Regions from separate parts of the Homo sapiens genome. Here regions 2, 3 and 4 are each linked to region 1. Evidence: promoter capture Hi-C in 16 types of primary human blood cells and fetal thymus (Javierre and others, 2016). All regions are on one chromosome and are shown on one strand. The core of a region is centred on a gene start or on the middle of the fragment in contact, and the rest is flanking DNA. Distances in the headings are between cores, read along the strand shown. Region 1 holds the start of DDX60 (DExD/H-box helicase 60). Region 2 holds the start of SAP30 (Sin3A associated protein 30). Region 3 holds the start of NAF1 (nuclear assembly factor 1 ribonucleoprotein). Region 4 holds the start of SPATA4 (spermatogenesis associated 4).

The links. The method cuts DNA at HindIII sites, captures the fragments that hold promoters and counts their contacts. A CHiCAGO score of 5 or more calls a contact.
Region 2: a contact is called between a fragment that was not itself captured here and the fragment with the promoter of DDX60 in region 1, in 1 of 17 cell types (activated CD4 T cells). The highest score is 5.6, in activated CD4 T cells.
Region 3: a contact is called between the fragment with the promoter of NAF1 here and the fragment with the promoter of DDX60 in region 1, in 7 of 17 cell types (activated CD4 T cells, naive CD8 T cells, total CD4 T cells and 4 more). The highest score is 16.3, in activated CD4 T cells.
Region 4: the fragment with the promoter of SPATA4 here is called in contact with the fragment with the promoter of DDX60 in region 1 in 2 of 17 cell types (total CD4 T cells and M1 macrophages); the score reaches 6.9 in total CD4 T cells.

Annotation. Positions count from the first base shown.
Region 1 is chr4:168,317,198-168,320,566 of GRCh38, forward strand. It overlaps DDX60 (DExD/H-box helicase 60), which reads right to left and starts at 1,555. Exons shown (of 38, transcript NM_017631.6): 1 at 1,425-1,555. RefSeq lists an enhancer at 1,489-1,818. The HindIII fragment of the contact is 2,588 bases long and covers 1,044-3,369 here.
Region 2 is chr4:173,369,997-173,373,509 of GRCh38, forward strand. It overlaps SAP30 (Sin3A associated protein 30), which reads left to right and starts at 958. Exons shown (of 4, transcript NM_003864.4): 1 at 958-1,501; 2 at 3,394-3,513. The coding sequence starts at 1,187. SAP30-DT (SAP30 divergent transcript) reads right to left here and starts at 702. Exons shown (of 4, transcript NR_183973.1): 1 at 296-702. RefSeq lists enhancers at 179-418, 1,502-2,065, 1,769-2,068 and silencers at 819-988, 1,269-1,648. The HindIII fragment of the contact is 6,906 bases long and covers 1-3,513 here.
Region 3 is chr4:163,165,277-163,168,616 of GRCh38, forward strand. It overlaps NAF1 (nuclear assembly factor 1 ribonucleoprotein), which reads right to left and starts at 1,614. Exons shown (of 8, transcript NM_138386.3): 1 at 1,087-1,614. The coding sequence starts at 1,451. RefSeq lists enhancers at 759-1,626, 1,118-1,197, 1,228-1,347, 1,368-1,567. The HindIII fragment of the contact is 3,845 bases long and covers 1-2,761 here.
Region 4 is chr4:176,193,697-176,196,984 of GRCh38, forward strand. SPATA4 (spermatogenesis associated 4) reads right to left here and starts at 1,889. Exons shown (of 6, transcript NM_144644.4): 1 at 1,649-1,889. The coding sequence starts at 1,866. The HindIII fragment of the contact is 1,203 bases long and covers 1,379-2,581 here.

The DNA.
Region 1 (3,369 bases), core at 305-2,804:
ACACACACACACACATAAACACACACCCAACAGGACACACACATACAAAAACAAACAATCATAAGACCACAAATCTTACAAACGAATAAATTAAAAGGGGATGAAAGAAATTGCAAGAACCTTATAAGGCTTATCCTCCAATCACAGTAGTGTCAGAACCATATTCTGATTCAAACAATCTTAAAAAGGAAGAAGAAAAGAAGAAGGGAGGAAGAGAAATGGAAAAGAGAAAAAAGGAGGGAAGAGGAAAGGCGCAAAGGGGAGGTAAAGAGGAAAAAAATGGGGGCAAGGGAAGGGAAAGGAAATCATGGATTCTGTATTGGAACAGAATGGTGGAGCTACTTGATGAAAGGCATCAAGCTCCTGAAACCCTGCCTGGAGAAGAGCTGGTGGGTTAAAATGGCTTCCAGTACCCGGTATAACCCTCTCCCCTTGAGTGTGGACAGGACCTGTGAATTTAATGGCATAGTCTCTTTAATGATTCGGTTATATTATGTAAGACTTCATCATAGTAGACTCGGGAGATTCCCCCAAAGAGGCTTATACCTTCTTTAAAGGTACCCTATACCTTCTTTAACGGTATAAGCCACCTTGTTGTGAGAAGGCCACTGTAGCTAAGATCTCAGGGTGAAATCTAAAGACATGGGAACCCCCAGCCAACAGCCAGCAAGAAAGCAGGTAACCTCAGTCCTTTAGCTGCAAGAAACTGAATTCTTCCAACAACCTGAATGAGCATCCATGGTGTCCCATGAGGCCACAGCTCTGACACCTTGATTTCAGCTCGATGAGATGCTGAACAGAGAACTCACTTTACCCATGCCTGGGCTTCTGATCCACAGCAATTGTAAAATAATAAACTTGTAATGTTTTAAGCCACTATACCTGCCCCTTGACCAGGAATAAATTAAGTTACTGGAGTAGGAAATAAATTTCTATTGTCTTAAGCCACTGAAATTTAAGGGTGCACAGAAATTACCTGGGGGAATCTTATTAATAAACGCAGATTCTGATTCTACAAGTCTGGAGCAGGGATTGAAGGTGGAAGCTTCTTGCTGCTGTCAATGTACAGGTTTTACTGGCTGTGCTTAGATATGATGTCCCTTAATTTCTCCTCAACCTCCATTACCCAGCTCCCACCTTTGACGGGGACTCCTTAAATGCCTAACTAAGCACTCCTCTCTGTCTCAGACTTCAGGCCTTTCGCGGTTGTCCCTTTCCTCCGCCCCTCCCCACGCCCGGCCTTCCGGGCCAGCAGGGGGCCCGTGCGCCACGGCCTTGCGATCCCAGGAGGTTCCCCAGATTCCCGCGCCCCGAGCCCAGCACTCCTGGGCCACCTCCCTGTCCGGTCCGTTGAAGAAGACCTAGAACTCCCGCTAGACAGCTCCGCCCCAGGCTCTTCCCAAGGGACATCCCCGGCTCCTCACCGCGGACTCAGGACCGGTGGTGTCCAAAGACCCGCGAGCTGCGCGCCCCGCGGGGAGGGAGTGAAACAGAGACCTAGCGCAGAGCCCAGGTGGAAGTTCCAGGTTACCCCAGACCTGGCCTAGGACTCGGCGCTCTGAGCCACCGCAGCCAGTCTTTTATGCATCCGGCGGGAGTTTCGGTTTCCTTTCTCCTCTCAGAAGCACTTAGGTTTCAGTTTCCCTTCAGCACGAATTAGGCGAGGCACTTTCGTGGAAAGTTTAGCATCCTTCCCTTCAATCAGAATCTTAAGAAGGGGAGCATGGCGAGACGTTAGTTAAAAGGTATGAAGTTACAATAGCTAGGAAGAACCAGTTCTGGTATTCTATTCTGCAGTAGGGTGTGTATAGTTAACAATAATGCATATTTCAAAATAGCTAGAAGAGAGAATTTTGAATATTCTCATCACAAAGAAATAGTAAAGTTTTGAGGTAATAGATGGGCTAATTATCCTGATTTGATCATCACACAATGTATACATGTATTGAAACGTCACATTGTACCCCAAAAATATATACAATTATTATGCGTCAATTAAAAATAAAATGAAACTAAAAAAAACCTTAAAAGAGAGAGACAAAGGCAATAAAAATGGGCTTTGGAATTTGGGCATAAATATAGAGTAAATTGAGGCAGAAAAATTTGTAACATCTAAACAAGATAAAATCAAGAAGAGTTAGAATTTAGAAATTGATAAAATGTAAAAGACACTGTGGAATCTGAAACCCCACAATGAAATTGGAGATCTTGCTGCTTCTACTTGTATGCAAAAAGAAAAAAGAAAGTATGTAACAATACATGAACTTTGAGTTTCTGTTATGAGAAGCTGATGATTACTGTTCTGTATAAACTGTAATTGGTACTTTCATGGGCCAAGAATCAACATTAAAAAATAAATTGAAAATGCAGAATGGTCACATTTATTTGTGCCTCAAATTGATGAAATGTTCTCTTAATTTTTGCCTGTTGATACTTGCAGTGTGGGTTTCGATACTCATCTCCTTTCCTTTCAGTGCCCTCGTATGCTTGATTTCATTAATGCTATAAATATGCATTCATATATTGGAAATAGAAGAGGGTGTGGAGGAAAGACAGCAGTGAATTTGGGTAATCAGCATGATAAGAAGCCACAGGCTGCTTTGTCTACAAGGAAAGGAAAGAGCCAAGGTCCAGGCACTGCTCCACAGGGAACACAGAACAGAGAGAGTAGTGAATGATACTTTGTCTTGTGAAAAATTAGAGAGTCAAGTTGTTAAAAGAGGGGGATATGGGGAAGGAGGACATTTCTCACATCCATCAGACAATTACTTGTTTATTCATTTGTTTAGAAATTCACGTGTTTGTTAGTGATGAGATTAAGAAAGAAAATAAAAGACTCTAGAATTTAACACATGATTGGTCTTAAATCAGCCAATATTCCTGTCTCCTTCACTGTGATCTCTGATGTACCTGCCTGGGGTAGGCTGAATAATACCCTGCACTCCTCCCTCCAAAAGAGGCCAAAATCCTAATTCCTGGAACCTATGAATACAGTAACTTTCATAGCAAAAGTAACTTTGCAAAATAGATTAAATAAGAATCTTTAGAAGAGGAGATTACCCCTTACCCGGGATTATCCAGGTGGGCCCAAGGTCATCAGAAGGGCCTTTATAAGAGGGAGACAGGAGTTCGAGGGGCAATGTGATGATAGAAACAGTCAGTGACAGAATGTGGGGACACTACACAGATGGCGTTGAAGACAGTGGAAGGGACCACGGGCCAAGGAGTCTGGTGGTCTCTAGAAACTACCAAAGGCAAGGAAACATTTTTTTTTTCTAGAGCCTCCAGAAATCAGCCCTGATAACACCTTGACTTCAGCCCAGAGAGACTGATTTTGAACCTCTGAGCTCAGAACTGTAAGAGAACAAA
Region 2 (3,513 bases), core at 1-2,500, 5.1 Mb after region 1:
CCCGGTAGAGCTAATGCAGGGAAGTTTCTGGGAACATTCGACCAGCGTTTGTATTGGTGAGGTTCCAAGTTTCCTTTAAAATGATATGACTCCGCCCTTCTCCAAAACCGTTTGAGGAGAAATGGAAAAGGTTGGGCGTGGAGGTGAAAAGGAGCCCTGTTGTCAACTGGTCCGTACTCCACCTCAGGAGGCGGCCAACTTGGTGCGCCCAAGAATAAAAACATTTCCCTTGTAAGAACATGCAAGTGTTTAGAAACGCCCCCCCACCCCCCCGCAAGGCGTTTGTGAGGGGGACCTGTCACAGTTGAGAAGTCAGGATGGGCGTTTTCCTCCCAGGAGGTGCCCTATTAATTTGCGGCCTCGATAGTTGGTCAAGCCGGGATGTTAGCTGCGGAACCTCCAGGACCGAAGAGCGCCAATTCTCCTGAGTTCTCCTTGGTTTGGGTTTCCCACAAAAGAGTGGTCACACCAAAAACTCTGTCTCCACAAATGCGAAACGGGCTCGAAACTTTTTTTTCCCCACACGATCACTTCCCACACCACTCCCATCCCTTTATGTTTCGCCTCAGGAGTCGAGGAACTTCTCTGAAAACCAATTCTACGATATTCCAGCAGCTAAACACAGCCCGAATTCCCTAGAAACAGAGAGAGCGAGAGAAAACACTGTAAACCCCAATCACACGCTCCTGTTTTCCCGGTACTGAAAAAAAAAAAAAAAAAAAAAAGTGGGTCCGTGGCCGCGCTATGCATGCTAGGATTAGTAGTTCCTCCGTCCCTCATGGCGCGGGGTCAGGGCGGAGCTCAGGTTGACTCTGCAGCAGAGAACTACAATTCCCATGGGGCCGCGCGGCAGAAAGAAAGGGGCGGGACGGGAGGGGGCGCGTCGCGCTTGCGCAGGTCCCGGGGCCGGAGGGAGGCGGAGGCGTAGCGGTCCAACTGCTGAAGTCCCCATGTGACAGTGAGCGGGGTCCCCGCTCCAGGAGACGCTCGAGTCTGCGTCCCGGCCCTCAGCACTGTCCACTGTTTCGGTGCCAGCAGAGACCAGCAGGCCCGGGACAGTTGGTGTTTGGCCGTGCCGCTGTCTAACTTGGTGTGCAGAGTGAATTGCCGCTGCCGGAGCGGAGAGAGGCGGAGCGGCCAGGAGAGAGGGGATTTCTGTCAGCGCCGGCCTCGGGAGCTCGGAGACATGAACGGCTTCACGCCTGACGAGATGAGCCGCGGCGGGGATGCGGCCGCCGCAGTGGCCGCAGTGGTCGCTGCCGCGGCCGCCGCCGCCTCGGCGGGGAACGGGACCGGCGCGGGCACCGGGGCTGAGGTGCCGGGCGCGGGGGCGGTCTCAGCGGCTGGGCCCCCGGGGGCGGCCGGGCCGGGCCCCGGGCAACTGTGCTGCCTGCGGGAGGATGGTGAGCGGTGCGGCCGGGCGGCAGGCAACGCCAGCTTCAGCAAGAGGATCCAGAAGAGCATCTCCCAGAAGAAGGTGAAGATCGAGCTGGATAAGAGCGTAAGTAAACCGCGGGACCGCCCTGCCCTCCCGCCCCTCGGTGGGGCCCCAGGAGCCGGGCAAAGGCACGGGTTGTCGGCGGGGTCCCCCAGACAACCGCACTGGCTGCAGTGCGGTCTCGTGGAGTCTGTGTTTGGAAGCAAATAACAAAGTCGCTGCAACTCCTACCGCCACCCCAACACACACACCACACACAGGCTGTCGTTCCCCTCTTCTTTCCCACCCTGGCCCCCAACCTCCCGCTGCCTGCGTCTCTCCCGCGCAGTCTTCCCTCTTCCTTCTCCTCTGCGACCGGGACACGAAACAAAGGGGACCGGCGCACTGAGGGCCCAGAGTAGTTTTCTTGCAGCCCGGCAGCTCTTCTGGAATGGAGGCGCCTTTGTTTTGCTGCCCAAGCTGGTGTTTGGCCCCAGGCGGTACTAAATCCCGTCGTCTAGGAGAAAGCGGAGGACCTTCACGAACAAGGAAGATCCTGTTCTTTTCTGTGTTCCGTCTCCTCCGGAGCGGAGTGAGAGGGAAGCCGAGCTCACCCGCCGCCTGGCAGTGAGCCGGGGTTGTAAACGGCGTTTGCGCTGTCAGCTCCGAGGGCAGCTACTCCGATGGTGGGGAGCACGTAGCCTCTGCGGTTTTGCCATCCCCTTGGCAGCCATCAGGATTTTTTGCACGTCTTTTCGTTTGACCATCTATGAGGTTTTTAGAAACAGCCGTTGCTACTTTTGGGAGATCTGGCTAGCGGTAAATGAATAACATGGTATCGAGAACCTACCACAAGTCCTGCATATTTTTATCTTGCGCTTGGCTTAGAAGTAAATGTAAAAGCCTGTTAGCTCAGTCCGTGTTTGTTTCAAATGCTAGTCTACAGCTCGCAGGAGTATATGTAATTAAAGTTTTTGAAAAGTTTATTTGTGACACTTTTTGCCCGTTTAAACAGTTTTCAGTGTTATCCATGAGAAACTCTTCAGGTGAACTTGCATAATTTCAGATTGTTTTGGAAAAATGTGTTATAGATAAATACATTGATTTAATATTCAGAAAAATGTATAACTGAAATTTAAATATAGTTTTGAAGTCGATGGCTCATTTGTGAAAACGAATGGTTTTGTATCTGGACTATAATTTGGGTATTCAGTTAGAAAGACTGGAAAGCATACATTATATTACTAAAATATGCTGTTCTTTTAAGTAGAGAAAGTACTGTCAAGTAGCAAAACTGTGAGCAACATCATCTTTCCCCTCATCAGTTAAAAATTCAACATGAACTAATTCAGGTCATCCTTACTGCTATCTGTTTGTTTATTTATTTAAGACAAAGTCTCACTCTGTTGCCCAGGCTGGAGTGCAGTGGCGCGATCTCGGCTCACTGCAACCTCCAACCACCAGGTTCAAGTGATTCTCCTGCCATAGCCTCCTGAGTAGCTGGGATTACAGGCTACTGCCACCATGCCCGCCTAATTTTTTGTATTTTTAGTAGAGACGGGATTTCACTATGTTGGCCAGGCTTGTGTGGAACTCCTGAGCTCAAGTGATCCACCCGCCTTGGCCTCCCAAAGTGCTGGGATTACAGGCGTGAACCACCGCGCCCAGCCCCTCACTGCAATTTGATGACAAAACCCAGAGGGTTGGAATTTCTCATTCTCCTCTCCCTCCCTCCCTTACCCCCTTCCCCAGATGGAACCAACCCCTCCTTCCCCATCCACCATCCTTTTAACAGTATTCCAGACATCTTATGTTTTAGCGTATAGGATTTAAACGTATAAATATTCCATTATCTTAACAATGGCCCATCTTGGCTGTCTTTATTTTTAAGAACTCACTGTGGCATATGTGTTTTACTAATACATAGACACATTTTACTGTAATCATAAGCAGTGTGTAAAACTTTTCTGTTTCAGGCAAGGCATCTTTACATATGTGATTATCATAAAAACTTAATTCAGAGTGTTCGAAACAGAAGAAAGAGAAAAGGGAGTGATGATGATGGAGGTGATTCACCTGTTCAAGATATTGATACC
Region 3 (3,340 bases), core at 364-2,863, 5.2 Mb before region 1:
TGTACCCCTTTTGACTTCTTCAAATATTTGGTATCCTCTGCCATCACCCACAGAGTCAGAAGTAGTATCCTGACACTAAGTTGGCCTATTATGACGCCATATCCCTTCTGCTTTCAAAACGTATCCCCAAATCATCTACCATTTACTTTTCTTTGCTAGTAAAATGAGCTCTGAAATCCCACAAGATGATTATACTGCAATCTTAGTACTGCCAAGAAATCCAACCTTGTTTACAGTTGTTACTTCCCCCTCCCAGTACATTTCATACCCTCTCCTTCTACTCAAATCCTTCAGCCTTCTTCACTTCCACTCTCCGCTGATGACTTCCCTGAAAACTAAACTTCTCACCTCCTCAACACGTGTCTATCTTGTTAACCTGTTCAGTACCCCACTCAACACACTCAACTATTTGTAGACAATGTTCAGTGTGGTTTAGTAACATCCCACATGCTGGAGTCCTCTCCAGCCCAGAGATTTCATATTTAAAAGACAGGTGTGGGGGCAAGGGGGAAAGGCTCTCACAAAACGTAAGAAGCATAAGATACTACTAAATAACACTGTTTGGCTACTTTCATAAACACGTGTTCCCTGCAAGGATTCTATAAATTAACGTAATCATCAAGAGCCAGCTTTGAAACACAAAAAATAATACTTTTCCTGATCCCCAATGTATGTGGTTCAAAAAACAAAGCCTAGATGTGATGATAAAAAAAAATCAGATCTGACACAAAACTCAACTATAACCACAAAAGTACAGCCTAAACTGAGTAGTTACGGAAATAACCTAAGATCCTCGGGTTTTCTAAAGTCTAACAAAAAATGATACGATCTATACATAGAACCCTTCAGGCCACCAAATTTAGGAAATAAGTCAGTACTAAGCTCAGATTCACAACGCGACCTGCTTTGAGAGGCAGCGAATAAGGGGCAGTCGGAGCCAATACTTCAACACGTGAGCCCGGAGCACCAACGACCTGCCCACCCTCCAGGGCCCACACAAGCAACCTCTAGGCTCCTAGGCCCCAGCCACCCCCGCCCGTCATACAAGACCTCTCCCCACAGCTCCGGGTCCCTTAGGCACCCGACCTGTCCGAGTCCGAATCCGAGTCCGAGGTCTCCAAGGAGTCCGGCGCCCGCGCAGGCTCTGCGGCTCCTGGGGAGGTGACGCAGTCTCCGCAGGCCGGCGATTCAGCCGGTGGCTGTGGCTGCGGCGCCGGGGTCCCGGCCGCGACGGCGTTCAGAACGGGCTGCAGAGGCTGCTCCCCGGCAGGCTTAACCTCCACGGTCTGCCCAGCGTCCGGGGACCCCTCAAACGACTGTAGCGGCGGCTGTGTCCCTGGCACAGGGGCAGAGCCCGGAGACGGAGCCGCCGGACCTTCCCCAACTCCAAAGTCGGTGCCATTGAATTTCAGAGTTTCCAGCTGAGCGGCGGCGGCCTCCACTACCTCCATCGCACCGCGCCAGAAACCGGGTCGGCCTCAGGATTGGGGCCCCTGGACAAGCTCACGGCTCTCTCCAGAAATAGAAAAACAACTTAGGCAACCGCAGCAACACTGCCTGGGCCCAACTTCCCGCGTTTCTCAGGTAACTACACGCGGAGGAGCCAAAAGACACGCCCCCGCCATTTACGCAGCAACGCTTTCCGAAGAGCGTGTGACGTATGTGGCGCGACGGCGCGACGGCGCTCGCGGGGGCAGGATACATGCGTCATATCTTCGAAAATCAGGATTAGGGGGTCGGGCGCCGTGGCTCACGCTCGTAATCCCAGCACTTTGGGAGACCGAGGTGGGCGGATCACAAGGTCAGGAGTTCACAGACCAGCCTGCCCAACATGGTGAAACCCCATCTCTACTAAAAATACAAAAATTAGCTGGGCATGGTGGCGCGTGCCTGTAATTCCCACTACTTGGGAGGCTGAGGCAGGAGAATCGCTTGAACCCAGCAGGCGGAAGTTGGAGTGAGCCGAGACCGCGCCACTGCACTCCAGCCTGGCGAGAAAGCGAGACTCCGTCTCAAAAAAAAATAATCAGGACTAGGGAGGCCCTAAATCGACCGTTTTCACTGCGTCATGTGAACCATTCAAGGCCTGAATGTCGGATTTTCCTATTGCTGCATGTGAACCAATTCTGCTTGAAGCGCCAAAATGAAGCAGGGATTATACAACAGGGGGGTGCCTGAAGAATGCTAAGTTCTGTACATCAGAAACTTGAGCCAGGAAGTCTTGACAAGACGCTAGTAACTTCATGAAAGTTAAATGAAGTTTATCCATCAATAGATCCATCTGTCGATAGATAGGGTATTAACCATTTTTTCAAAAATGTAACTACAACTATTCCATTTTCCTTTCTCCAAAGTACCCTCAAAGAGAGCAGTAATGGACAAAATTTTGCTGTGTTGTTCATGTTATGGTGATGTCTATATCATACTTAGCACTGTTTCGTAGTAGAGAGATGAGACTATGAGACTGAAATGTACTCACTTATTGTTGGAAACCACTAGTCTAAATTGTGGAGAAAGCAAGCAGAGTTCTTAGGACTGAGGAAGAGATCAGAATTTTCTGGTTTCCTATTAGGTCTTCAGTTTGAGGCATCAGTCCCTGTGTAGTAATAATAATCATTGATACCATTTGTTAAACATGCATATGTGCCAAGGACTGTGCTAAAGATTTTATAAATTATTCACTGAGAATTTAGTGTGTCATCTACAACAGTAGATCTTCATAGAAATGCAAGGCAAGTGTAATAAGAGTAAGGTTTTAAGAAGCTTACAATCTACTTGAAGTAGAGAAGGGCAATGCACAGGAGATAACTAGAAAAATATTTGAAATATGAAATAGAAAATCCAAGTGCAGCAGAAATGGGAAGTAGGATTGGTAGGCTATTTCATGGAAATCCTCCAAAGTGAAGAAGGACTTTAAACTTGGGATACGAACTTACTAGCACAATGATTAAGCAGAGCTCAGAGTTTTCAACTAAAAAGACCTGTGTTCAGGCCTCAGCTCTACCATTTTGTGTTTGGTGTTACTGACTTTGGGCAGTTAATCTAAATCCTAATTTCCTTATCTGTAAAATGGAGATAAAAATACTATCTCATTTAGTTCATGTGAGCACTAAGTAAGGCTTTATATAAGGGAGTGGCATGTCATACATTCAGTGTGCAAAAATACTTGGAAAATGGAACAATGCATGAACTCACGAATAAAATATTTAATTAACAATGATCTTGCAAAGACATGCAGTACAGATTTGAGAAGGGAAGACGTTTGAGCCAGAATTATTCCCCAGCCAGCCACTTTGTTGCATTTTTCCAGGAATTAGGTGATAAAAGTCTGAACTAGGCT
Region 4 (3,288 bases), core at 639-3,138, 7.9 Mb after region 1:
GTTGTTGGATCGTTGCTCTAAGGAGAACCTACTGTGGAATTTTGCTAAGATTATCTACGTTTCAAAGGCTTTGGTGTTCTTTTGATGAACCCAAACTGTTAATTTGTATTGAATCCGCATTTCAAGAAGATCCCCAGGTGATTCATATGCACTTTAAAATTTCAGAGGCATGGTTGTAAGTAATACTGAAGACAAATTAGTAAACTAGTCCCCCGCTTATCTGCAGTTTTGCTTTCTGCAGTTTCAGTTACCTTGGGTCAATCACAGTCGGAAAATATTAAATGGAAAATTCAAGAAATAATTTGTAACTTTTAAATTGTACTCTGTTCTGGGCAGTCTGATGAAACCTCCCTGCCTGCTCTGTGTTGCCTAGGATGTGAGTCCTCCCTTTGTCCAGAGTCTCCACGTTGTAGACATCAGTCACCTTTTAGTCATCAGATCAACTGTACAGTGTGGTGCGCTTGTGTGCAAAGTGCAAGAGCAGTGATGCTGGTGATTCAGATATGCCAGAGAGAAACCATAAAATTATTCCTTTAGGTGAAAAGATGAAAGTTCTTGACTTAATAGAAAGTTGTAAGAATGGTTACAATGGTAGGAATGAATCATATTCCTGAAATATGAAGAAAAAGAAATTCTTGATAGTTTCGGCATCACACCTCAAACTGAAAAACTTTCAGCCACAGTGTGTGATAAGTGCTTAGTTAAGATTTTTAAAAAGGCATTAAATTTGTGGATGGAAGACATAAACAGAAATGTGTTCTGACAGAGGGTTCTGTAGTATCCACAGTTGCCATCCACTGGGGATCTTGGAACCTATGCCTCTCTGATAAGGAGAGACTACTTTAAACCAGAGTTCTGCAAAAGATTCATTGCCTTTTTATAGAATTTAGTTTGCATTCCCAGAGCAAATATTAGCTGCCAGTTACATACAAAGTGCCTACAATTAAGCAGCAACTTTAAAAACTTGTTGGTAACTCTCAAACTAGATGCCATCTCCGACAAAGGGTAAACTGATCCTTACCAGTATTTTTTTTTTTTTTTTTTTTTTTTTTTTTTGAGACAGAGTCTTACCCTGCCACCTAGGCTGGAGTGCAGCGGCATAATCTCGACTCACAGCAACCTCCGCCTCCCGGGTTCAAGCATTCTCCTGCCTGCAGCCTCCCCAGTAGCTGGGATTACAGGCACCCGCCACCACACTGGGCTAATTTTTTGTATTTTTTAGTAGAGACGGGGTTTCACCGTGTTGGTCAGGCTGTTACTCAACTCCTGACCTCAGGTGATCCGCCTGCCTCGGCTCCCAAAATGCTGGGATTACAGGCATGAGCAACTGTGCCCGGCCGTCCTTACCAGTATTAATGCCCAATATCACTAAAGAAAAAGCTTTGACTATTTTAATATTTTTGTAGTCACCAAAGCATTCTATATTGTCCACAATTTAATGATTGGTTGATTAATTGAATAAACAAGATGTATCGTGGTATTTTGTTAAAGCCTTGTTCCCTAATAGTGTTTTCGTGTGTGTACGTGGGTGGGGGGGTCTTGATTTGAAACATAAGCCAGGCCAGGGTAGGCAATCTGAGGCCTGGCAGGCGGCGGAAAGCAGGCGGGGCGCCCACCGGGGGGGCCTAGGACTGGCTTACTCAAGCACCTGTTGATGTTCCTGGGGAAGAAGCTGAGATCCAGACCCTGAAGCCAACGCAGAACGGAACGAGACAAGCGGGAGCTCTTCGGCGCATGCGGATAGACCAGACACTTCTTAGGCCTCCCTCGGATGGGAGCTGCTAGCTGTGGCGAAAGTGACGGTGACTTGTCTAGGGCTGCCGCAGTCTGTGTCAAATACCCTTTTTCCTGGCCGGCGGCAGCCATGACGCTTTCTGGGTTGCTGCGGCAACAGCAGAAGGCGGGGCTGGGCCTTATTGCTGGCGGCGCGGTCTCGTGGGGCGGGGCGGAGTCTTATGGGGCGAGACCTCAGCGCCTGCGCAAGCGCCGCAGCAGCCGCCCGTACTTCCGCTTTACTCAGATTTTGGACCGCGGGGCCGGGTATCGAGGGAGGCAAAGCTGGGGTCCCAGTGGTGTGGCTGCGGTCTGGGGAGCGCTTTCAGTCTCAGATTTAGTTGGCCTCACTGTTAACCTATTTAGAGCTTTTTTTTTCTTATGTCATCGTTCATAAGTTTTGTATTTTAAATATTGTTGGTTTCTGCCCAGCCAAAGGCCTATTTTCAGTCGTCTAGTTTGAGGAGTGGTGTGAGAAGACTCCAGAGGCCAAGGACAGTTTTTGTTTGGGAATTGGAAGAGATGGGGGAAAAAAATCTTTGAAATGGAAATGAATGTCCACAAAATTTAACATAACTATTTCCTTAATTATTGCATTAAGTATTTGTAAACATTAATATTTGAAAACGATGTGTAGGTTAGATTTTCACACTTAATTAAAATCTCCTAGTAGGCATAATTCCTTCATTAATTCAACAAATATGTATTGAGTCCATATTATGTGCCACGCATTCATCTAGTCACTTGGGATCTATCTGAACACAATGAAAACAACTGCAAAGTTGGCATAGGCAATTATAAATATGTAAGCTTAATTATTAAAATCCATTAAAAATTTTTACAGCCACAGTTTTTTGTTTTTTGTTTTTTGTTTTTTGTTTTTTTTTGCTTGGCAGGGCACAGTGGGTCATGCCTGTAATCCCAGCACTTTGGGTGGTGGAGGCGGGAGGATCGTTTGAGCTCAGGAGTTCAAGACCAGCCTGGGCAACACAAGGTGGAGAGACTTTCGCTACAAAACAAACAAACAAACAAAATAGCTGGGTGTGGTGGTGCACACCTGTACTCTCAAGTACTCCAGATGCTGAGGTGGGAGGATTGCTTGAGCTCAGGAACTTGAGGCTGCAGAGAGCCAGGTGACAGGCCCTGTGGATACATACACATGGTAAAATATGGGATAGATCTTGATAATGATACTATGTAATATTTTTAATGTTTATTCATATACATGCTTATTAATAAAGTAAACCAGTGTATTCTGTATGTGGTTAAAAAAGAAAACCAAAACTGAAGCTATGTAAGTGTTTTCTGTTAGGCTAAAAAAGTTTTAATGAATGATTCATTCATTCTGTAAACCTTTTCTGAGGAACTATCCTGGAGTATGTGCTAGATCTTTACCATCCAATATGGTAGCCACTAGCCACATGTGGCTATTTAAACTTAAATTTAAATAAACTCAGTTCCACTGGCTACATTTTACCTGCTCAATAGCCATATGTAGCTAGTGGCTGCCATGTT